2 separate regions of the Homo sapiens genome follow, and region 2 is linked to region 1. The links are contacts of gene promoters, found by promoter capture Hi-C in human tissues and cell types (Jung and others, 2019). All regions are on one chromosome and are shown on one strand. The core of a region is centred on a gene start or on the middle of the fragment in contact, and the rest is flanking DNA. Distances in the headings are between cores, read along the strand shown. Region 1 holds the start of MMP9 (matrix metallopeptidase 9). Region 2 overlaps CDH22 (cadherin 22).

The links. Contacts are between HindIII fragments. The study calls those that stand out against the background at their distance.
Region 2: a fragment that was not itself captured here is called in contact with the fragment with the promoter of MMP9 in region 1 in 1 of the 25 tissues and cell types used here (spleen).

What each region holds. Positions count from the first base shown.
Region 1 is chr20:46,005,262-46,011,491 of GRCh38, forward strand. MMP9 (matrix metallopeptidase 9) reads left to right here and starts at 3,647. Exons shown (of 13, transcript NM_004994.3): 1 at 3,647-3,803; 2 at 4,605-4,837; 3 at 5,222-5,370; 4 at 5,661-5,789; 5 at 5,882-6,055. The coding sequence starts at 3,666. RefSeq lists an enhancer at 1-54. The HindIII fragment of the contact is 9,924 bases long and covers 1-6,230 here.
Region 2 is chr20:46,182,891-46,189,120 of GRCh38, forward strand. It overlaps CDH22 (cadherin 22), which reads right to left. Exons shown (of 12, transcript NM_021248.3): 9 at 3,936-4,057; 10 at 3,698-3,815. Among named protein-coding and RNA genes, the nearest start is that of CD40, 68 kb to the left of the region's middle. The HindIII fragment of the contact is 5,122 bases long and covers 1,432-6,230 here.

The DNA.
Region 1 (6,230 bases), core at 2,397-4,896:
GGTATATGCTGTTCTCTGCCTGCACTCCCAGGGTCTTGGCTAAACTCTATTGTGGTATTAAAAAGAGAGGCTGGGGGAAGTGGGGAAGGGGATGTGGTAACCAGAACCACTTCCTGCCACTGCAGTGTTGAAAGCCAAGCTCTGTCCAAGTTCCCCTTGATGGGGGTTGGGGAGCCAGGAGGTAAAGGAGGAAGTTGATGGGAGTTGGGGGGGATGTTAAAAAAAGGAGGATTCTTATTTGGATTGACTCCAGGAATCAAGATCTGGGTTTCCTGGCTGCTCTCTCCCTGCTCCCATTTGGTAAAAAACAGCGGCTGTCCTGAAGGTGGTCCTAATTAGCATAGCAGTGAACACTTATTATCATGTGCCAGGCACTTTATATTTGCTAACACTTTGAGCCTTACAACCACCCCATGAAGGAAGCACTATTATTACTCCAATTTTACAGATGGGGAAACTGAGGCACTGAAATGTTGTGTCAGTTGCCCTTGTCACACAGCAAGTCAGTGGCAGAGCTGAGATTTGAACTTAGGCAGCCTGGCTCCAGAGTGCAGGCTCTTGCTCTGTGACCACTCTGAGCCTCAGTTTCCTCATTGCATGATGAGGGTAATTGGAATACATAAATCCACTTTCCTTTCTTGATGCCTGATTCTCTGGTAATTAATTATTCATTCAATTTCTCCCCATGCTGAACTCTCAGATCCATGAACAATGAGACAAAGGCTATCTTGGTCACTACTTGTATTCCCAATTCTTAGCATAATGATTGGCCTAGAAAAACTCAACTAGAATGTGTTGAGTAAATGGTCTTTAAAAGGTCTGAAGATCATCAACAATGGTTTGAGTATCTGATAAAAGTTTTAGACCCTTTACATAGAAAAATCAACATATACCAGTAGCTGGGGGTGAGTCTGCCCCTCCCACTCACCCAGGGTACATTTGGCAATGTTTGGTAACATTTCTGGTTGTCACAACTGGCAGGGGGAGGTGCTACTGGCATCCAGTGGGTAGGGGTCAGGGACGCTGCTAAACATCCTACAATGCACACGACAGCCCCAAGTGCCAATAGTGCTAAGTTTGAGCTATGTGACATACATACATAGATATGTATTGTATGTCATGTTTGGTACCATTGATGGCAAGTGGGGGGTAGTTAACGGATTTTCCTAAAAGCCCGTGTCTGCCACCCAGATGAAGATCCTCCAGATTGGAAGATCTGTTCCTCTAAACTCATATTACTCTATGACCTCACATTCCCGAGTCTAGAATCTAGTTCCTCCTGGGTCCCCTGTCCTAGCCTCTGATTCCCTAAATGCCTGGGCCTCCTCTCTTACCTTCAGTGGGTAGCAGGGGACCAGAGGAGAAGCATCCAGGTTTTATGTGCTGCCCCTGTCACCGCATCCACCTACCCACTTCTATACCTGGGTCATCACAGTTCCCTGTAAATGGTAATAAAGATGAAAAGCTTCAGAGCCAGGCAGTTCTGGGCTTGAACACTAGTTCTGTGGATTAACTCGCTCTGTGATCACAGGCAAATTCCTTAACTCTCTGAGCCTTAGTTTCCCCCTCTGAAAACAGGAGGGATACTCATTAAACTTACCTTACAGGTGGTGAGGATGAAACGAGAGGCTTATAGAGAACTTATTACGGTGCTTGACACAGTAAATCTCAAAAAATGCATTATTATTATTATGGTTCAGAGGTAAAGTGACTTGCCCAAGGTCACATAGCTGGAAAATGGCAGAGCCGGGATGGAAATCCAGGACTTCGTGACTGCAAAGCAGATGTTCATTGGTTAGTGAACTTTAGAACTTCAACTTTTCTGTAAAGGAAGTTAATTATCTCCATCTCACAGTCTCATTTATTAGATAAGCATATAAAATGCCTGGCACATAGTAGGCCCTTTAAATACAGCTTATTGGGCCGGGCGCCATGGCTCATGCCCGTAATCCTAGCACTTTGGGAGGCCAGGTGGGCAGATCACTTGAGTCAGAAGTTCGAAACCAGCCTGGTCAACGTAGTGAAACCCCATCTCTACTAAAAATACAAAAAATTTAGCCAGGCGTGGTGGCGCACGCCTATAATACCAGCTACTCGGGAGGCTGAGGCAGGAGAATTGCTTGAACCCGGGAGGCAGATGTTGCAGTGAGCCGAGATCACGCCACTGCACTCCAGCCTGGGTGACAGAGTGATACTACACCCCCCAAAAATAAAATAAAATAAATAAATACAACTTTTTGAGTTGTTAGCAGGTTTTTCCCAAATAGGGCTTTGAAGAAGGTGAATATAGACCCTGCCCGATGCCGGCTGGCTAGGAAGAAAGGAGTGAGGGAGGCTGCTGGTGTGGGAGGCTTGGGAGGGAGGCTTGGCATAAGTGTGATAATTGGGGCTGGAGATTTGGCTGCATGGAGCAGGGCTGGAGAACTGAAAGGGCTCCTATAGATTATTTTCCCCCATATCCTGCCCCAATTTGCAGTTGAAGAATCCTAAGCTGACAAAGGGGAAGGCATTTACTCCAGGTTACACTGCAGCTTAGAGCCCAATAACCTGGTTTGGTGATTCCAAGTTAGAATCATGGTCTTTTGGCAGGGTCTCGCTCTGTTGCCCAGGCTGGAGTGCAGTGACATAATCATGGCTCACTGTATCCTTGACCTTCTTTCTGGGCTCAAGCAATCCTCCCACCTCGGCCTCCCAAAGTGCTAAGATTACAGGAATGAGCCACCATACCTGGCCCTGAATCTTGGGTCTTGGCCTTAGTAATTAAAACCAATCACCACCATCCGTTGCGGACTTACAACCTACAGTGTTCTAAACATTTTATATGTTTGATCTCATTTAATCCTCACATCAATTTAGGGACAAAGAGCCCCCCACCCCCCGTTTTTTTTTTTACAGCTGAGGAAACACTTCAAAGTGGTAAGACATTTGCCCGAGGTCCTGAAGGAAGAGAGTAAAGCCATGTCTGCTGTTTTCTAGAGGCTGCTACTGTCCCCTTTACTGCCCTGAAGATTCAGCCTGCGGAAGACAGGGGGTTGCCCCAGTGGAATTCCCCAGCCTTGCCTAGCAGAGCCCATTCCTTCCGCCCCCAGATGAAGCAGGGAGAGGAAGCTGAGTCAAAGAAGGCTGTCAGGGAGGGAAAAAGAGGACAGAGCCTGGAGTGTGGGGAGGGGTTTGGGGAGGATATCTGACCTGGGAGGGGGTGTTGCAAAAGGCCAAGGATGGGCCAGGGGGATCATTAGTTTCAGAAAGAAGTCTCAGGGAGTCTTCCATCACTTTCCCTTGGCTGACCACTGGAGGCTTTCAGACCAAGGGATGGGGGATCCCTCCAGCTTCATCCCCCTCCCTCCCTTTCATACAGTTCCCACAAGCTCTGCAGTTTGCAAAACCCTACCCCTCCCCTGAGGGCCTGCGGTTTCCTGCGGGTCTGGGGTCTTGCCTGACTTGGCAGTGGAGACTGCGGGCAGTGGAGAGAGGAGGAGGTGGTGTAAGCCCTTTCTCATGCTGGTGCTGCCACACACACACACACACACACACACACACACACACACACACACACACCCTGACCCCTGAGTCAGCACTTGCCTGTCAAGGAGGGGTGGGGTCACAGGAGCGCCTCCTTAAAGCCCCCACAACAGCAGCTGCAGTCAGACACCTCTGCCCTCACCATGAGCCTCTGGCAGCCCCTGGTCCTGGTGCTCCTGGTGCTGGGCTGCTGCTTTGCTGCCCCCAGACAGCGCCAGTCCACCCTTGTGCTCTTCCCTGGAGACCTGAGAACCAATCTCACCGACAGGCAGCTGGCAGAGGTGGGCAAACACCTAGTCTAGAGTTGGGGAGGGCTGTCCGTGAGGGTGTTGAGTGTCCCAGAGAGGATGCAGGGCCTCAGAGGAGATGCTTTAGGGGTGTGTTGGTGGTGATGGGCGTATCTGAAGAACAGAGGTGTCCAGGGTTAGGCAGTGGGGGGTCTTGTGGAGGCTTTGAGCAGTGATGGCCAGAAATGGGCAATGGGGCTTTCCTAGGTGGGAAATGGGAAATGGTTTGGGGTGGGGGAGGCATTGGAGGGTTCTGGGGTAAGCATAGGCTGGGAGTGAACAGGGGCAAACCTTATGCAGCTGTGGGGTAGAAATGGGCTAGAGGCATCCAGGGGTGAGAAGGAGCTGAGGATGTCTAAGGAGGGGAGATCCCTGGGTGGTCAGAAAGCACTGGTGTCTGGAAAGCATTTAATGCTTTATTAAATGTTAGTCCCTGCTGGGCATGACGGCTCACACTTGTAATCCCAGCACTTTGGGAGGCTGAGGTGGTAGGATCGCTGAAGCTCAGGAGTTTGAGCCCAGCCTAGGCAACATAGTAAGATCCTGTCTCTACAAAAAAATTAAAGAAATAGCCAGGCACAGTGATGTGCACCTGTAGTTCCAGCTATGCAGAAGGCTGAGATGGGAGGATCGCTTGAGTCCAGGAGGTCCAGGCTGCAGTGGGCTGATACCGTCTCTCCGAAAAAGAAAAAGAAAAAAGACTCCCTCCATGAGTGTCTGGAGGGAGTCCTTTGGCCCCAGCTGGGCAGAGAAAGGGGTCAGAGATCTGGCATGTGTGTGTCCCTTCATCCACAGGAATACCTGTACCGCTATGGTTACACTCGGGTGGCAGAGATGCGTGGAGAGTCGAAATCTCTGGGGCCTGCGCTGCTGCTTCTCCAGAAGCAACTGTCCCTGCCCGAGACCGGTGAGCTGGATAGCGCCACGCTGAAGGCCATGCGAACCCCACGGTGCGGGGTCCCAGACCTGGGCAGATTCCAAACCTTTGAGGGCGACCTCAAGTGGCACCACCACAACATCACCTATTGGTGAGCCGGGGCCGTGGGGGCAGCGGGGTGGGGCGGGGAGGCCAGGTCTGGCTCTTGGGCCAGCGGTGAACATGTCCTGTCTTGGACGCGTCCCTGGGTTTCACTATTTAATGTGTGGCCCCTGGGGAGTGTCCCCACCTCTGAGCCTCTGTTTCTCCTTCAGGGAAATGGCTCTTGCAATCCAAGTCCTCCTGCCAGGGCCATTGTGAGGGTCTAAGTAGACAAAAAAAAAAAAAAAAAAAACAGTCTGGAAGCAATTTATAGATGAGAGCGTGGACGGCAGAGAGCATTGTGTATGTTGAAGTCTCTGCGATATGGGGTGTCCCTGCTGCCCCGCTCCAGCCTTTCACTTCTGACCTCCTTCCTCTGGCTCTTACGCTACAGGATCCAAAACTACTCGGAAGACTTGCCGCGGGCGGTGATTGACGACGCCTTTGCCCGCGCCTTCGCACTGTGGAGCGCGGTGACGCCGCTCACCTTCACTCGCGTGTACAGCCGGGACGCAGACATCGTCATCCAGTTTGGTGTCGCGGGTGAGAACGTGAGGAGGGAAAATCCAAGAGACCTGGGCGGGGTCAGGGAAGGGAGGACCACGGAGAGCGTGGAGGCAGCAGTGGCCCCGGCTTCCTCTTGCCTGCCCGCGCTGCCCTGGCTTATACGGCCCCTCCTGCCAGACAGTGCACAGGGCCAGGGCGCCAGGCTGGGAGAGCTTCGCGCAGGCGGGATTTCAGCCCGCACTTATTTCGGAGCCCTTGCCTTGGGCAGCGCACAATCTGCGCAGCAGTACTCGGCTAACCCTCTTCCTCTCGACCTGTTTCTTCAGAGCACGGAGACGGGTATCCCTTCGACGGGAAGGACGGGCTCCTGGCACACGCCTTTCCTCCTGGCCCCGGCATTCAGGGAGACGCCCATTTCGACGATGACGAGTTGTGGTCCCTGGGCAAGGGCGTCGGTGAGATTCTGAGTCCTCCTGGCCCCTGATTCCCTTCATTCTCTCCCACTCATCACCCGCCGCCCTAACTCCGGTCCCCCCTCCTCCTGCAGTGGTTCCAACTCGGTTTGGAAACGCAGATGGCGCGGCCTGCCACTTCCCCTTCATCTTCGAGGGCCGCTCCTACTCTGCCTGCACCACCGACGGTCGCTCCGACGGCTTGCCCTGGTGCAGTACCACGGCCAACTACGACACCGACGACCGGTTTGGCTTCTGCCCCAGCGAGAGTGAGTGAGGGGGCTCGCCGAGGGCTGGGGGCGCCCACCACCCTTGATGGTCCTGGGTTCTAATTCCAGCTCTGCCACTAGTGCTGTGTGGCCTGCAATTCACCCTCCCGCACTCTGGGCCCAATTTTCTCATCTGAGAAATGATGAGAGATGGGATGAACTGCAGACCATCCAT
Region 2 (6,230 bases), core at 2,743-5,242, 180 kb after region 1:
GAAGGGGCTGAGGGACTGGAGGAGGAGGAGGCCTTCCACGGCTGCTGTGACCTCAGCGTGCTGCTGCCACCCTGTCCCCGGAGCTTACACCAGGTGGCACTCTGGATGGCAGCTCTGGTGCCCCCCCCTCTCCCCCAGCTAAACAAAAGCAACTGAGGCAGAATCTCGGGCCCCTTGGGTTGGAAAGCCTGGTGAACTTGGCAGAGTTGAGCCAAGGCTAGCTGTGTTTCCTGTGACCTGCTCAGGATACTACTGGACTAATGAATAGGCAGGGCTGTACTGGTTGTTAAAATATTGAAATACTTCCAAAAAAGGCTTAAATAGCTGTTGACACTAAGCCCCCCAAATCTCTCCCTGCTGCCTCAGCCTTTTCCCCAGGCAGCCTCCCAACTTTGACACAATCAAGCCACGAAGGAGTTAATGCCTGGTGTAGTAAAGTTTCCAGGGTCCTGCTCCAGGTTTTGGTCAGCGTCCTTTCTGATTGGCCATCTGAGCTGCACTGGTTGTTAAATCTGTTTATTATTTTTCATTATTTATTTTTAATTATTGATTGACTGAGACAAGGTCTCACTCTGTCTTCCAGGCTGGAGTGCAGTGGTGCGATCGTGGCTCAATGGAGCCTCAAACTCCTAGGCTCAAGTGATTCTCCTGCCTCAGCTTCCTGAGTAGCTGGGACTACAGGTGTGCGCCACCATGCCCAGCTAATTATTATTATTATTTTTAAAGAGATGGGTTTTCACTGTGTTGTCCAGGCTATTCTCAAACTCCTTGCCTCAAGGGATCCTCCTGCCTTGTGCTGGAGTTATAAACATGAGCCTTACATATTTTTAACAGGACTCCCAGGGGTACAGATGGGTCTGGCTTCAGAGGCCACTAAGGCTCCGCATTGGGTGTGAGTGTGTAAAGGCCTTGAGAAGGATCCCAGACCTGTTCCAAGGCCAGAAGGAACCCACATGATCTGGCCCCCTCGCTGACCACATCTCCTCCCAGTCCTGTCTCTTACTCACTCTAATCACACAGGTCTCCTCCATTCCTAATCCACCCCAGTCCTGCTCACCACAGGGCCTTTGCACTTGCTATTTCTTCCACTGGGGTGGTCGTTTTCTCTCATATCCTTTAGGTCCCTTCTCACTATGGATACCCTTGGAGAGTCCTTCCCAGGCCACCCTATTTAAGAAGATAGCTTCTCCTCTTACCCTGCTTTCTCTCTCTCTTTTTTTTTTTTTAGATGGAGTTTCGCTCTTGTTGCCCGGGCTGGAGGGCAATGGTGAGATCTCACCTCACTGCAACCTCCGCCTCCTGGGTTCAAGCAATTCTCCTGCCTCAGCCTCTGGAGTAGCTGGGATTACAGGCATGCGCCACCCTGCTGGACTAATTTTTGTATTTTTAGTAGAGACTGAGTTTCACCATGTTGGCCAGGCTGGTCTCGAACTTCTGACCTCAACTAATCCGCCCACTTCAGCCTCCCAAAGTGTTGAGATTACAGGGCTGAGCCACTGTGCCCTGCTTTATTTTTCACTGTTTCATTGAACACATTTTATCAAACACCTACGATATGCCAAGCACTGCTCCAGGCACCTAGGGTTGAACAAAGTCAAGTCCAGACCCTTGTGGAGATTGCATTATTCCTCCACCCCAGCCACTTATCATCCCCAACATACTTTTTTATTTGTGTCATTTCTGTCTCACCTCACTAGAATATAAACTAGGTTTTGTTGTGTTTGCTGTTGCATTTCCAGGACCCGGAGCAGACCCCGACACAGAGGCTTTGTGTCTCAATAAACACTCACTAAATAATTGCTGGATGTAGGAATTGACATTTCTAGGTATTAACACTATATCTTGGTGGCCCTTATCTTACTGGGGCTACCTAGCCACCCGAGGCAGTAGGTGTTACTCCCATTTTAGATGATGAAACTGAGGCTTAGAGAGGAACAGGCGCCCCAGCACTTTGGTAGGCCGAGGCGGGCAGATCACCTGAGGTCAGGAGTTCGAGACCAGCCTGGCCAACATGGCGAAACCTCGTCTCTACTAAAAATACAAAAATTAGCCTGGCGTGGTGGTGCGTGCCTGTAACCCCAGCTACTCTGAAGGCTGAGGCAAGAGAATCTCTTGACCCTGGGAGGCAGAGGTTGCAGTGAGCTGAGATCGCACCACTGCACTCCAGCCTGGGCAACAGAATGAGATGCTGTCTCAAACAAACAAACAAACAAAAAACAACAAAAAAACCCCACACGCATACACACACACACACACACACACACACACACACAAACAACAACAAACACAAAAAAACCAGAGAGGAACAGGAGCTTGCCAGGGTGGTATAGAGCACCCTTCGCTGAGCCTGGTCCCTTATTTCCAGTCTGGTGACTGCCCCCTTCCCTCAGTCTATTCCTTAAAGGTTCAAACATCAACATCATGAGAAACTTGTGAGAGCCAGAGGGGAGGAATCTCACAGTGGACTCAGGCAGGGCAGGGCAGTTTGCTTTCCAGGTGGTGTGCTGAGGCAGGAAGCACACTGGACTTGGGATGGGGTTGGGTTGAATCCTACCCACACCACTGACTCCCTATATGACCCTGGGCAGGACTCTTTCTCTCTTAGAGTCTCAGTTTCATCACCTGTAAAATGGGGAGAGGAGTCAGAAAACTACCTCACAGGATGGCTGTGAGGTTGCAGAAAGAAATGTGAGTGGGCCTGGCGTGGTGTCTCATGCCTATAATCTCAGCTCTTTGGGAGGCCGAGGTAGGAGGATTGTTTGAGCCCAGGAGCTCGATACCAGCCTGGGCAACACAGCAAGACCCCATTTCTACAAAAAATAAAACAATTAGCCAGATCTGATGGTGTGCATCTGTAGTGCCAGCTACTCAGGAGGCTGACGCAGGACTGCTTGAGCCTAGGAGATCAAGGCTGTAGTGAGCTATGATTGCACCACTGCACTGCTGCCTGGGTGACAGAGCAAGACCTTGTTTCAAGAACAATTCCAAAAACCAAAAAAGGAATGTGAGTGGAATAAAGCAGTTTTTAAACTGCAGGGTGGGCTGGGCACAGTGGCTCATGCCTATAATCCCAGCACTTTGGGAGGCCGAGGCAGGCCGATAGCTTGAGCCTGGGAGTTCAAGACTAGTCTGGGCAATACGGCAAAAATCCCGTCTCTACAAAAAATACGAAAAGTAGCTGGGCATGGTGGCACACATCTATGCTCCGAGCTACTTGGGAGGCTGAGGTAGGAGGATTGCTTGTGTCTGGGAGGTGGAGGTTGCAACGAGCCACTGCACTCCAGCCTGGCTGACAGAGCGAGACCCTGTCTCAAAAAAAAAAAAAAAAAAATCAAATAAAAAGCCAGAAACCTGCAGGGTGGGGAGTGTGTGCACGTGGCTTACTTCAGTCTCCACTCAGAACGGGGGCTCTTTCCACCCTGGACTCTGGCACAATCATTCCTCATTTATTCCCTGTCTATATCTTCCCATCTGCCATTTCTTATCCTTGGGACGCCCTCCTCCACTCCACCAACCCACACCCTGCTTGTGTTTGGCCAGTGGGCTGGGTAACAGCTCCAGCTTGGCCCAGACTTTCCATGTGATCTTAGATCCAACATAGGCCCTGTGGGCGCCTCCGTCCCTCTGTCTATAATATGGGAACAGGGCAGGGAGACTGTGCCCCTCCCTTCTTGCATCCTAGGGTTTGGAGGCTCACCTTGGATGTCAAGCAGAGAGAAATGAGGGTTGCTGGGAGCTTCAGGCACCAGGCGGAAATAGAAGCGGTGCCCGCCTTGGGGCTCGTCTCTGTCCACCACGCTGATGGTCTGGATGAGCTGAAGGGTGAGGAGGGGATAGAGGGCTAGTGGTGAGGCTGAGACCACTCTGGGTCGAGGTAGAGGATGCTGCTGGCCAGTCCTGGAAGCAACGCCCAGTCCCCACCCCCTCAGGGGTACCTGGCCTGGCTTGGCATCCTCGCATACAGCTGCCTCGTAGGGTGTGGCCAGTTCTGGGGGATTGTCGTTCACATCCAGGATTCGGATCCTTAGGGATGCCCGGGATAGCTGTGCATGATTGTCTGTAATGAGAGCACAGGAGCAAGGGGAGAGGCATCAAGTGGGAGATCTAGATAGCCTCCTCTCTACTATGAGGACAATAGTAGGCAGTGGGGTCATGCTGAGAAATTTGTGGGTTAACCAAGCTGGTACAAGGACCAGAACTGGGAACATTTGGGCATAAGTTAAGTAATCATCACTGTAATCACCACCACCATTACCATCAACCTTGGCACCATTGGCATTATCACTACAACGCTTGCCACCACAATCACCAGTAGCACCCACTGCCATCACCAACACCATCACCACTGTCAGCATCAACACCACCATCACCATCCCATCTCCACCATGGCCACCTTTGCCATCACTACCACTATTACTATTACCACTGTCATCATTAAGCCATTACCAATACCACTATTTGCATTATCATCAGTGCGTCTATCAACATAACTATGAGTACCACCATCACCATCCTTATACTGTTACCATCACCACTGCCATCACCACCATCACCATCAGGTCATCACCATCACTACCATCACCATTAGAATTAGCACCACCACCACCAGAACCACATCCTCTAGTACTACACCCATCATCTCTACCATAAATAATACTAAAGCCATCACCATCACTACCCTCACCACCACCACCAACCCCATCACCATCACCAATATCACCATCACCAATACCACCACCATCTCTTCCATAGTCACCACAACCACAATCACCAGCCCACCTATTACTACTATTACCCCCATCATAATCACCAATATTACCATCACATCCCTGGCCCCCAACAACACTGTCATCACCACTGCCATCCCCACCCCCTCACCACAGAGCACACAGCATGCACGTGGAGCATCTACATTCATTATTTTAAGTATCCTTGCAGAAATCCTGTGGTTTGGTACAATTTCTATCCCCATATTGCAAAGGAGAAACTAAAACGTGGGATGCTTTCTAGACATGGGTCGGGGCAACTAAACTCCAAGACTTCTGCTTTCTCAAGACCTGATCCTAAAAGGGCCAGACAAGTCCAAGGAGGTAGATCTTCGCCAGCAAAACCATGATGTCCCCACCTCTCCAAGTTGGGACGTCTTTAAGATCATGGTCCCTGTCTTATTTATCTCTGGGCTACCAGCATTGTGGGATATGGTACATGTAAATTCTAATATATTAATATTTGCTGAATGAATGAATGAAGCCTGGAAAAATTGAGACTGCAGGAGGCTTGAATTCCAGGCGTGGCTGTGTCCCTGACCCAGTGTTTGGTCTTGGGTAAGACCCTGCCTTCTCTGATGTCAGTTTCCACACCTGGAAAATGAACAGAGCATAGTGATTATGAGCAGTGCTGGGTAGTTCTGATTCCAGCTCTGCTGTTTTATGTCTGTATAATCCAAGCCAGGTCATTTGACCTCCCTGTGCCTCAATTTTCTCACCTGCAAAATCGGTCTAATATTGACCCAATTATGCCTAGCGTTCCATTATTGGAACGCTAAGCATGTGAGAGTTATTTATATCCTACTGCTCAAGGACTTCGCCAAGGTCTGATTGCAAAAATTCAAAAAATTGCAACCTCAGGCATAAATGGGTTAATAGGTCGGTGAAGAGACAGATTGAGTTAATATCTGCAGGGCATTTGAAACTGTGTGTACAACACGTAGCAAGTGCTATATAAGCATTTGTAAATAACCAGACATTCTCGAAGGGTCCTATTAGCAATAACATTAAATAATTCTAGGATGTGGAATACTTCATCCCAGCCTGTCCTCTCTAAGCAGTGCCCTGAATGTTGGTGCTTTCTAACCCCTCACCAGCCCAGACCTCTGAGTGCTCACTGGTGCTCCATCCTCTGCTATCTTGGCTACATGTTCATTACTGACATGTTCCACCTGCCAGTGACCTCAGGAACATCTCCTGGAGGAGGAAACCACACCTCACTTCCAAGCAGTGACTTAGAAGATGGGGCTCTCTGGCTGGGCTGGCAGGGAGCTCTCTGAGGGGCAGCCTGAAAGCTTCCAGGCATCCAGGCTCCCCAAGAGTTTCACGGGGAGTGGGACTGGTCGGCTGCCTCCTGCTGTAAACTCAGGATCCACTGTGTGCTGACGGCAGCTGCTCACGTGTTGATAAAGAGAGAAACAGAGATAGGAAGGCAGGTGCAGCCACCTCCTGGGGGGGCGGGCG